2 separate regions of the Homo sapiens genome follow, and region 1 is linked to region 2. The links are contacts of gene promoters, found by promoter capture Hi-C in blood cells and fetal thymus (Javierre and others, 2016). All regions are on one chromosome and are shown on one strand. The core of a region is centred on a gene start or on the middle of the fragment in contact, and the rest is flanking DNA. Distances in the headings are between cores, read along the strand shown.

The links. Contacts are between HindIII fragments. The CHiCAGO score rates a contact against its expected background, and 5 or more counts as called.
Region 1: the fragment with the promoter of NAPEPLD here is called in contact with the fragment with the promoter of SMURF1 in region 2 in 1 of 17 cell types (fetal thymus); the score reaches 5.5 in fetal thymus.

What each region holds. Positions count from the first base shown.
Region 1 is chr7:103,147,498-103,152,286 of GRCh38, forward strand. It overlaps NAPEPLD (N-acyl phosphatidylethanolamine phospholipase D), which reads right to left and starts at 1,602. Exons shown (of 5, transcript NM_001122838.3): 1 at 1,314-1,602. LOC105375434 reads left to right here. Exons shown (of 3, transcript XM_047421168.1): 2 at 1,521-3,067. The coding sequence ends at 2,323. It also overlaps the pseudogene RPL23AP95. The HindIII fragment of the contact is 3,849 bases long and covers 1-2,748 here.
Region 2 is chr7:99,142,497-99,147,072 of GRCh38, forward strand. SMURF1 (SMAD specific E3 ubiquitin protein ligase 1) reads right to left here and starts at 1,612. Exons shown (of 18, transcript NM_181349.3): 1 at 1,230-1,612. The coding sequence starts at 1,284. It also overlaps a transcript of KPNA7 not described here. RefSeq lists silencers at 794-843, 904-1,233, 1,374-1,873. The HindIII fragment of the contact is 8,132 bases long and covers 1-4,576 here.

The sequences.
Region 1 (4,789 bases), core at 352-2,851, 4.0 Mb after region 2:
ACAACAAAATTAAAGGCAAATACTGCTTTTCCAAACACAGACTAAATGTTCATAAAAATCCTCTCAGTTTACCAAACTCACAAATACTCAAAGTAACATAATACCCCTTTCGAACAAACACAAGAATGACTGTATCAACTAAAGTATAACCAAAACCCTGTGATGGAATGCTTATGCTAAAATGTTCTTCATATAGTTATAACTGGACTAATTTTAAAATTAGAATTTTGTAACATAGAATTTCTACAATATAATTTGGAATTCTGAGTGAAAATAAGGGTATGAGAAATACACTAAGTATTTTTATCTCTTGGAGACTTACCATAATTCTTGTAGCAGGAAAGCCTGCAGAATGTTAACAAAACAAAATCTCTGAAAATCCTGACTATATTTTCAGTTGACTTGAAACAAATTTAACCCCTCAATCTCTCCTTAAATTATTATTTTAAATAAGTACTTTTACCCTAAATTTCTTCTTTAACAGACCCAGTATTTTCTTGCAACAAAAATCACACTATTGTGGGATATAGGTAATCTTCTTTTTAAAGATTACATAACTTCTTTCTAAACGATGTCCATGTCTGCGGCTAATTCATAACCAATGTAACTGAAAATAGAAATGGAAATGTTAGAGATTTCCATTTTTTAACAAACATGGGAATTATTTCTCAATTTGAAGAACTGCATCTCAGGAATGACTTCCTGGACAAATTAATCAGAATTATCAAGTAGCAAACATTTCATGCTAAGCCAAAGCCAACCAGGTGAGTCAGTCATATTATAACATGTATATATAACAACGTACAGTAAAGGCAAAGACAAGAACTAAATGACTTTTTAAAAGGCTGTTAAACTTTACTCACTCCCTTAATATTTTCCAGGTTTAACTGACGTATAATGAATGCATGTGATCCCGGAACCCATGGAAGAGTATCTACCATATCGAGCTCTAGCTTGAAAAAAAAAAAAAAGGAAAAAACAAACAAACAAAACAACAACAACAAAAACCTATCTGAATACGTGTTCTGAAAAGCCCACAATAATACCCAATTTATAAGAAGCAAACAACCACAGAACAGAAAACTCAAGAAAGCACAGCCTTCCACCACCCCTCCCCAGCTAGCCCCATTTTTTTTTTTGCTCTTCATTTCCATTCCATAGTTAAATAAGTACACTTATTCCAAAATAAAAGGGGAGAAACCTGTTGGAATGGATTTTTAGAAGATAAACACTATAGATGAAGCAACAATAAGTTGCTCGGAGGAAGTTGTCGACCCATTCATTTACATACAACCAAAAGAAGATAAACCCACATGTATTCCTATCAGTGAAGATGCAACCTGGTAATTTGCAGGGAAGATAGGATCTCAAATCCCAGACAGCTACTCTCCCAAAGAGAAAAAAAATAATGCTGTGGCTCTTCACCGAGGCAGCTTCAGAGATGCAGGCTCCGCAACTCGCGAGGTGCGAAAATTCAAATGAAGCCCTGTCGCTCACAAGTGCGGCATCTCCGAGATGAGGGAGGGCTCGGGGACGGGAAACCCACTCTCAGCCCGCTCCACTTCGCCGAAGAATTCCAAACCACCCCAGGCTCAGCAGTGTGGATTGCTCCGCCCAGAGACCGTGGAGGAGGCAGCAGAGAGGTCACAGAGCACAGCAGGCGGGAGAAAACCGCCTCCCGCGAGGTCCAACAGAAACCACGGAGCTCCGGACACTCGGGATCCCGGGCCGCGGGCGCGCGGCCAGAGCGGCGGGGTGCGAGCGCGGGGGTGCGGACTCACCTCGCGCTTGGGGTGGCCGGGAGCGCGCGCCGCCTCAGTTCCGCGGCTTCCGGCCACAGAGTCCCCGCGCAAAGCGCCGCCGCGTAGCGGGAGGGGCGACCGCGGCAGGCGCTCGGGTTCTTCCTAACCCGAGCCCGCCGCGCTGGCTCCGCCGAGGACGCCAGCAGCTGCAGGCAGCGCTTCAGCTCTCGCCGCCTCGCCATCGTTGGGGCGAGTCGTCGCCGGGTCACTCCCTTATTATGACCTTCGAATCTGACAGCAGGGCCAGCGGTGGCCTCCTTCAGGCTGCCTCTCCAGCCCTTACCAAGATGGCCGCCCCTGTGGGCCGGGGCGCCGAAGCCATCTTGGTAAAGGAAGCGCCTGGGAGCACGCGGCCTGCCCCGGCCCGCCTCGCGACTCAAACACTCTGCAGGGACCCTCCTAAGATCAAATTGGTTCCCCCCGCTGTCCTAAGCCAGAGGCTTACTTTCAGATCGCATGAACGCATTCCTGGACACCAGCCACAGTTGCTAAAACTAAATGGGATCCTGCAGACCCATTGACGGACTGTCATAGCCAACTCAATCACAGTCGAGAAGCATTTGAATACTTACAGCCTATGGCGCTAGGATCCTGGTAGCGAAGAAACTAAACTCTAATTTGAAATGTTGTACAGTACGTATTGAATATTAATGGGAGCACGGCATTGTTCACTGTGTGATCGTTTACTTTTAAAATGATGTCACAGCCCCCTGGTACACACGGTTCTCATCTAAATTTGCATCTTTTTTAACGCTAGGATAACTATGAAAGAGCATACGATTGTGATTCTGAGTTTCTTACTGGATTTGCTTTTTAAACTGCAGAATGAAATTAGTTGTTTCAAGAAGTAAAGTACAGGCATGTCGAAGTAAAATTCAACAATGGGTTGTTGGGCAAAAAGATTATAAAAGTCCTGGGGTGTGCCAGGGTCAAAAAAAAAAAAAAAAGCTTGTCCCTGGGGTTATCTTGGCAAAAAAGAAACCACCACCACAGGTTCTAAATGCAGATAAGACTGGCAGAAAAATGCAGACCAAACTATTCTGCATTTTGAAAGTGAATGTGCCTGTGTGACATTGGAGGAATGTAAAGAACTGTATGTCAAGTGTGGACTTTATCTCCTCAGGCTAGCTTAGAGTGGCTGCTGAACTTAAGGGTGATTAAGAGCTGCTTGCACCTGGGTGGAGCTGAAACTGCATAAGGTGAATAATACCTTTGTGCAACAGAAGAAAAAAAAAAAAGTAACAGCATACATACAAACCCAAAGGGTAAGTTGAAGTTACTACTCAAAAGTTCTTCATAGTGTTCTTGACTAAGCAACGGAGAAGTAATCCCGGCACTTTGGGAGGGCAAGGCAGGAGAATCCTTAGAGCCCAGGAGTTGGAGACCAACTTGGGCAACATAGCGAGACTTCATCTCTACAAATAATAATTAAAAAAAAAAAAAAGTAGCCAGCCTTGATGGCCCGCCCTTGTGGTCCCAGCTACTCCAGAGGCTGAGGTGGGAGGATCGATTGAGCCTGGGAGATCAAGGCCGCAGTGAGCTGTGATCACGCCACTACACTCCAGCCTGGGCAACAGAGAAGACCCCATTTCCCCAAAAAAAAAAAAAAAGCTGGGCGCAGTGGCTCACGCCTGTAATTCCAGCACTTTGGGAGGCCAAGGCAGGAGGATCACCTGAGGTCAGGAGTTCGAGACCAGCCTGGCCAACATGGCGAAACCCTGTCTCAAGTAAAAATACAAAAACTAGCTAGGCATAGTGGAGCTCACCTGTAATCCCAGCTACTAGGGAGGCTGAGGCAGTAGAACTGCTTGAACCCCAGAGATGGAGGTTGCAGTGAGCAAAGATGGCACCACTGCACTCCAGCCTGGTAGACAGAGCAAGACTCTGTCTCAAAAAAAAAAAAAAAAAAAAGATGCCCTTTGTTCCCCTCACTCCCACTCTTTTTTTTTAAGTCCTTGTCCTTTATTGGTTAAGGCTGAGGGAAGCAGACAGACCAGTTGGACATAGTAGATGGGTGTGTGAGGTCAAAGTGCTACCTGAAAGCCAGCCAACCCACACTCCCCTAAGATGAATGCTAATGCCCTTCAAACTGTGGGCATTGGTTTCACACACAGCCTCTTCCAGGGATAAAAGAAGGGGTTCTTGTAAAGCCTCTTCTTTTTTCTTTTTTTTTTGAGACGGAGTCTCGTTCTGTCACCCAGGCTGAAGTGCAGTGGCCAGATCTTGGCTCGCTGCAACCTCTGCCTCCCAGATTCTCCTGCCTCAGCCTCCTGAGTAGCTGGGACTACAGGTGCCCACCACCATGCCCGGCTAATTTTTGTCTTTTTAGTGGACATGGGGTTTCACCATGTTGGCCAGGCTGATCTCGAACTCCTGGCCTCAAGTGATTTGCCCGCCTGGGCCTCCCAAAGTGATAGGCTTGAGCCACCGCCACCCGGCAGCTTCTTGTTTTCTTACCTCTACCATGGAGACAAGTTCTGGTTTTCTTAGGACAACTAGCTCTGGTCATAAAGATCTCTGGAGTGATCAAGTATGGTGGAGTGGCAGAGTGAGTGTTCCAAAAGGATAAGTAGAACAGGAGTCTTGCCCAGGCCCTATTACAACCTCAGTACCTTGAATGGCCTCCCCAGCCCAACCAGAAGTTGACAAAGAGGCATGAACCTGGTGAAAAGATACATGTATTTATAATTAGCCAGCTGGACTCAGTTTAGATGACCCCAATTTTGTTGGCAATATCCCAGTTTTGTTGGGTCAGCAACAAAGTTGATCCCAATTTTGTTGGCAATATCCAAAGCATTGTAATCAGGAGCCAGTGGAGCTTATGCCTTCTTCCTGCATCAGGCCTAATCAGGGCATGGACTTTGGCCACATCAGTGTCATAGAGCTTCTTCACAGCCTGTTTGATCTGGTGCTTGGTGGCTTTAACATCCACAGTGAACACAAGTGTGTTGTTGTCTTCTATCTTCTTCATGGCAGACTCAGTGGTC
Region 2 (4,576 bases), core at 362-2,861:
AGGATTGAGGAATTTCAGGCTGAAGGAAAGAAAGGGTGGAGGCCTCGCCAGACAGCAGCGAGGGGGCGGGGCTAGGCAGGAATGAGGGCGGGGCTTGAAAGTGAGGGGCGGGGCTAGGGGAAGAAGGGAGGAGGACGGTGTGGGGGGGTGAGGGAGAAACGAAAGAGGATGGGGGAGTGAGAAGAGGGTGGGTGGGGGCAGGAGGGGAGAAGCAAGGGGGCAAGTGGAAGGGGAGGTAGCAAAATAGCTTGGAAGTGGTGGGAAAGACCAGGAGGATGAGGGGAGGGAGCAGGTGGGAGGGAAAACAGGAAAGCAAGAGAGATGATGGGAAAGTGGTGAGAAGTGAGGGATGGGACCAGGGGAACAGAGGCAAGGCCAGGAGGGAAAAGCGAGGGGGCAGGTGGGCGGAGAGGATGGGAAGCGAGGAGAAGGAGGGAGGGGGTAAAAACGGCGGAGGAGAAAAAAAGGAGAGAAGCAAGGGGGCGGGACCAGGAAGAAGTGAGGGCCGATGCTAGGAAAGAAGTGAGGAGGCGGGACCAGGAAGAAGTGAGGGCCCAGGCTAGGAAAGAAGTGAGGAGGCGGGACCAGAGAGAAGCGAGGGAGCTGGACGCAGGGAGAAGCGAGGGGGCGGGGACAGAAAGTTAGGAGGCGGGAGCAGAGAGGAGCGAGGGGGTGGGGCCAGAGAGATGGGCGGGGTCAGGTTTGGGGAGGAAAGGTGGGGAAGAGAAAGGACCACAGGGATGGAGGTGAAAGGCAAGGGGGCGGGGCCTGGGGGGAGAAGCGAGGGGTCAGGTGCTAGGGAGAGGAAGGGAAGCGAGAGGCAAGGGGCCGAGCCGGGGAGAGGTGAGGGGAAAGGGCCTGGAAGGAGATGCAAGGGGCGGGGCCAGGAAAAGAGAAGCGAGGGGCGGGGCCAGGGAAGGAGATGCAAGGGGCGTGGCCATGAATGGAAATGAGAGGGGCGGGGCCAGGACGGAGATGCGAGGGGGCAGGTGCGGGGGAACGGGAGGGAACGCGAGACCGAGGGGGCGCGAGCGGCCAGGGGGCGGGGCCGGGCAACGGCGAGGGGGCGGGGCCAGGAGGGAGAAGCGAGGGGCGCACGCCGAAGGGGGTGACGAGGTCCTGGGACAACGGCCGGCGTGGGGGAGGGCCGCTTCCAAGGGCGCCCTGCGGGGAATTCCGGGGCGGGCGAGGGGGCGCCGGGGCGCGGGTGGGCCTCCCGCCGGCCGTACCTGTCAGACGGATCTTGATGCTGGAGCCGTTCCTGCGTGTCCCGGGGTTCGACATCTCCCGCCAACGATCGGGCAGCCGCGGATCCAGCGCCACCGCCCCCCAGCCCGGCCCGGCCCGGCCCCGCCGCCGCCGCCTCAAGGTTACGGCTCCGGGCTGGGCGCCGGGGTCCGAGCCGGGACACAAACTCCGCGGCCCAGGCGTCCGGGCGGCAGGCGGATGGTCGAGCCGGGAGATCGGCGCTTGCTGCGGCGCTCTGACCCTCGCTGCTTCCAGCCGAGCCCAGTCCCGAGCCGCCGCCGCCTCCGCCGCCGCCTCCGCCGCCTCCACCACCTCAGAGCCGGACGCCCGCCGCCCTCGCCGCTTCCGCCGCTGCCGCCGCCTCTCCGAGCCGCGCGCGCGCCCGCCGCCGTGCCGGCCCGGCCCTGCGCGCCCCCGCGCCTGCGTGCGTGCGCGCCCCCGCCACGTACGCTGGGGCGGGGCGGGGTGCGCTGCTACGTCGCCCGCACGCCTGCCTCGGGCGCGCGGGGCCCGGATCCCGCGGGTTGGGGTCTTCACCCTTCCTGTGGTCGGTGGGTGGGAGGGTCTGGCCCCGAGCCCGGGAAGGGAGAGCAGAGCTGGCCCCGGGACCCAGCGCGCGGTCGCCCTCTGTCTTGACCCCTGTCTCTGCGAGGCTCTGGGCTCCTGAGTGACTGAAGAGTGGTTTGCATGAAACCGTGGGCTGTGTCCACACCAAGCTCCTTGCACACAGGCGTGCAATACCAGTTTTTTTCAGTTAAGAGCTTTCGATCGTGCAAGTTCAAGGGAGGGACTTCTCAAAGAGACAAAGCCCTTAGGTGTGTTCTGTGCAACGGGTGTGCTCCACTGACCCATAACAAAGTTGCCAGAATCGCAGAAGTGCCATATACGGACAAGGAAAACGAGATGAGAGGGAGGGATAAAGTTGAGAGGCGGATGTTTGTTATTATCCATTCTGCATACAATTTTACCAAACAAGAAAGTGGCATTGTGGTTTGTGTTCCCATGTCTTCTGCTAAATTTCCCCTTCTCCCGGGGTTGCAGGTTAGAACCAAAAGCTCATGGCTGGGTACGGTGGCTGTAGCCTGTAATCCCAGCACTTTGGGAGGCCGAGGCGGGCGGATCACTTGAGCCCAGGACTTTGAGGCCAGCCTGGGCAACATAGGGAGACTCCATCTCTACAAAAAATACAAAAATTAGCTGGGCATGGTGGTGCGCGCCTGTAGTCCCAGGTACTGGGAGGCTGAGGTGGGAGGATCACTTGAGCCCCAGAGTTCATGGCTGCAGTGAGCTATGATCAGGCCACTGCACTACAGCCTGGGTGACAGAGCTAGACACTGTCTCAAAACACACACACACACACACACACACACACACAGAAAAAGCTCATTATGCGCTTTCTCCAGCAAACAAACTCCTCTCTGTTAGCATGTTATAGAAATAAACTGGTATTATTAGAAAGAGGGAAAACTAGGTTTATCAAACTTGTTTTTTACCCACTACCTTGTTGTTGTTGTTGTTGTTTTTTGAGACAGGGTCTCACTCTGTCACCCAGGCTGGAGTGCAGTGGCACGGTCTTGGCTCACTGCAACCTCCACCTCCCAGGTTCAAGTGATTCTCGTGTCTCAGCCTCCTGTATAGCTGGGATTACAGGCGTTAGCCACCACACCCAGCTAATTTTTGTATTTTTGGTAGAGATGGGGTTTCGCTGTTTTGGCCAGGCTGGTCTCAAACTTCTGAGCTCAGGTGATCTGCCCGCTTCAGCCTCCCAAAGTGCTGGGATTTCAGGCCTAAGCCACCGCTCCCAGACCCCACTACCCATTTTCATGTACAAGTTCTTTTTTATTTTTATTTGATTCTTCATCAATCAACTTGAACAAATTCTTTTAATACTGTGTGTGTGTGTGTGTGTGTGTGTGTCCCAAGGAAAGTAGGCTCTGGGCCATTGCTACCATCCCCTGCAGCCTTGTGCCTGTCCTAAGGTCACAGTCTTCGGAACAGAGCCTTCTACCTAGAGCGCCTAGACATACCTGCCTGCCTGCCCGCCTGCCTGCCTGCCTGCCTGCCTCGGATGACCCTAGTGAAAGCAGAGTCTCTCCTGGGCAGGATTCAAGGCATCACATCTGTCAAATAAAAGGATGGTCCTAGGTCATTTCTATGGCACCTTGCGGCTCTTTCAGTTATCCTCAAGAAAGACCCAAGAATATAAGCAATGTTTAAGCAATAGCAGTAGAGCCACAATCCAGCTGTTTCCATTTGTAGATGATTGTCACAGAGAGTGAATGCCTGGGTCTGAATTAATCCATCCAGTCTCTAATGCTCCCAAGTAATCCCCATTCTTCTGCCAATCCCGTTAGTATTTCCCCCCTATTCAAAGAGTCTCCTCTCTAAACAAAACCAGACATCACTCTCTGCTTACCTGGGTGCAGGCTCCTGTTCTTATCCCCAGGTGTTCCTGACCTGGAAACCTTTCATTGCTTAATTTTGTTGTTTTTCTCCCCGCCCCGACGGCTGGTTCTTCGTTGGCTTGACTGTTTCCTTAATCTTTGAGTCAGGAGGTTGCTTCTGGAGGTTTCTGAAAGGCATTTTGTTCATTCATTAACAAGTACAGATGCTCCTTGATGTACAATGGGGTTACATTCTGATAAACCCATAATATGTTGAAAATATGTCAAAAATGCATTTGCGGAGGCCGGGCATGGTGGTTCATGCCTGTAATCCCAGCACTTTAGGAGGCTGAGGTGGGGGGATTACCTGCGAGCAGGAGTTCGAGACCAGCCTGGCTAACATGGTGAAACCCTGTCAACTAAAAATACAAAAGTTAACTGGGTGTGGTGGTGTGCACCTGTAGTCCCAGCTACTCGGGAGGCTGAGGCACAAAAATCACTTAAACTCGGGAGGCAGAGGTTGCAGTGAGGCGAGATTGTGCCACTGCACTTCAGCCTGGGCAATAGAGCGAGACTGTGTCTTAAAAAAAAAAAAAAAAAAAAAAAAAAAAAAAAAAAAACAACGGAAAATGCATTTACTACACCTAAGCTACCAGCCATTATAGCTTAGCCCAGCCTACCTTAAATGTGCACAGAACACTTTCATTACCATACGGTGGGGCAAAATCATCTAACACAAAGCCTATTTTACGATAAAGTTATTATAAAGAATTTTGAATCAAAATTCGAAATTTGAAGTGTGGTTTCTACTGAATGTGTGTCGCTTTCCTACCATAACATCAAAAAATCGTAAGTCAAACCGTCATAAACTGGGACCATTTGAAATTGCTAGATATACCCAATAGTATCTTTCACCACAGCTGCACAAAGGGGACCTTCCTACC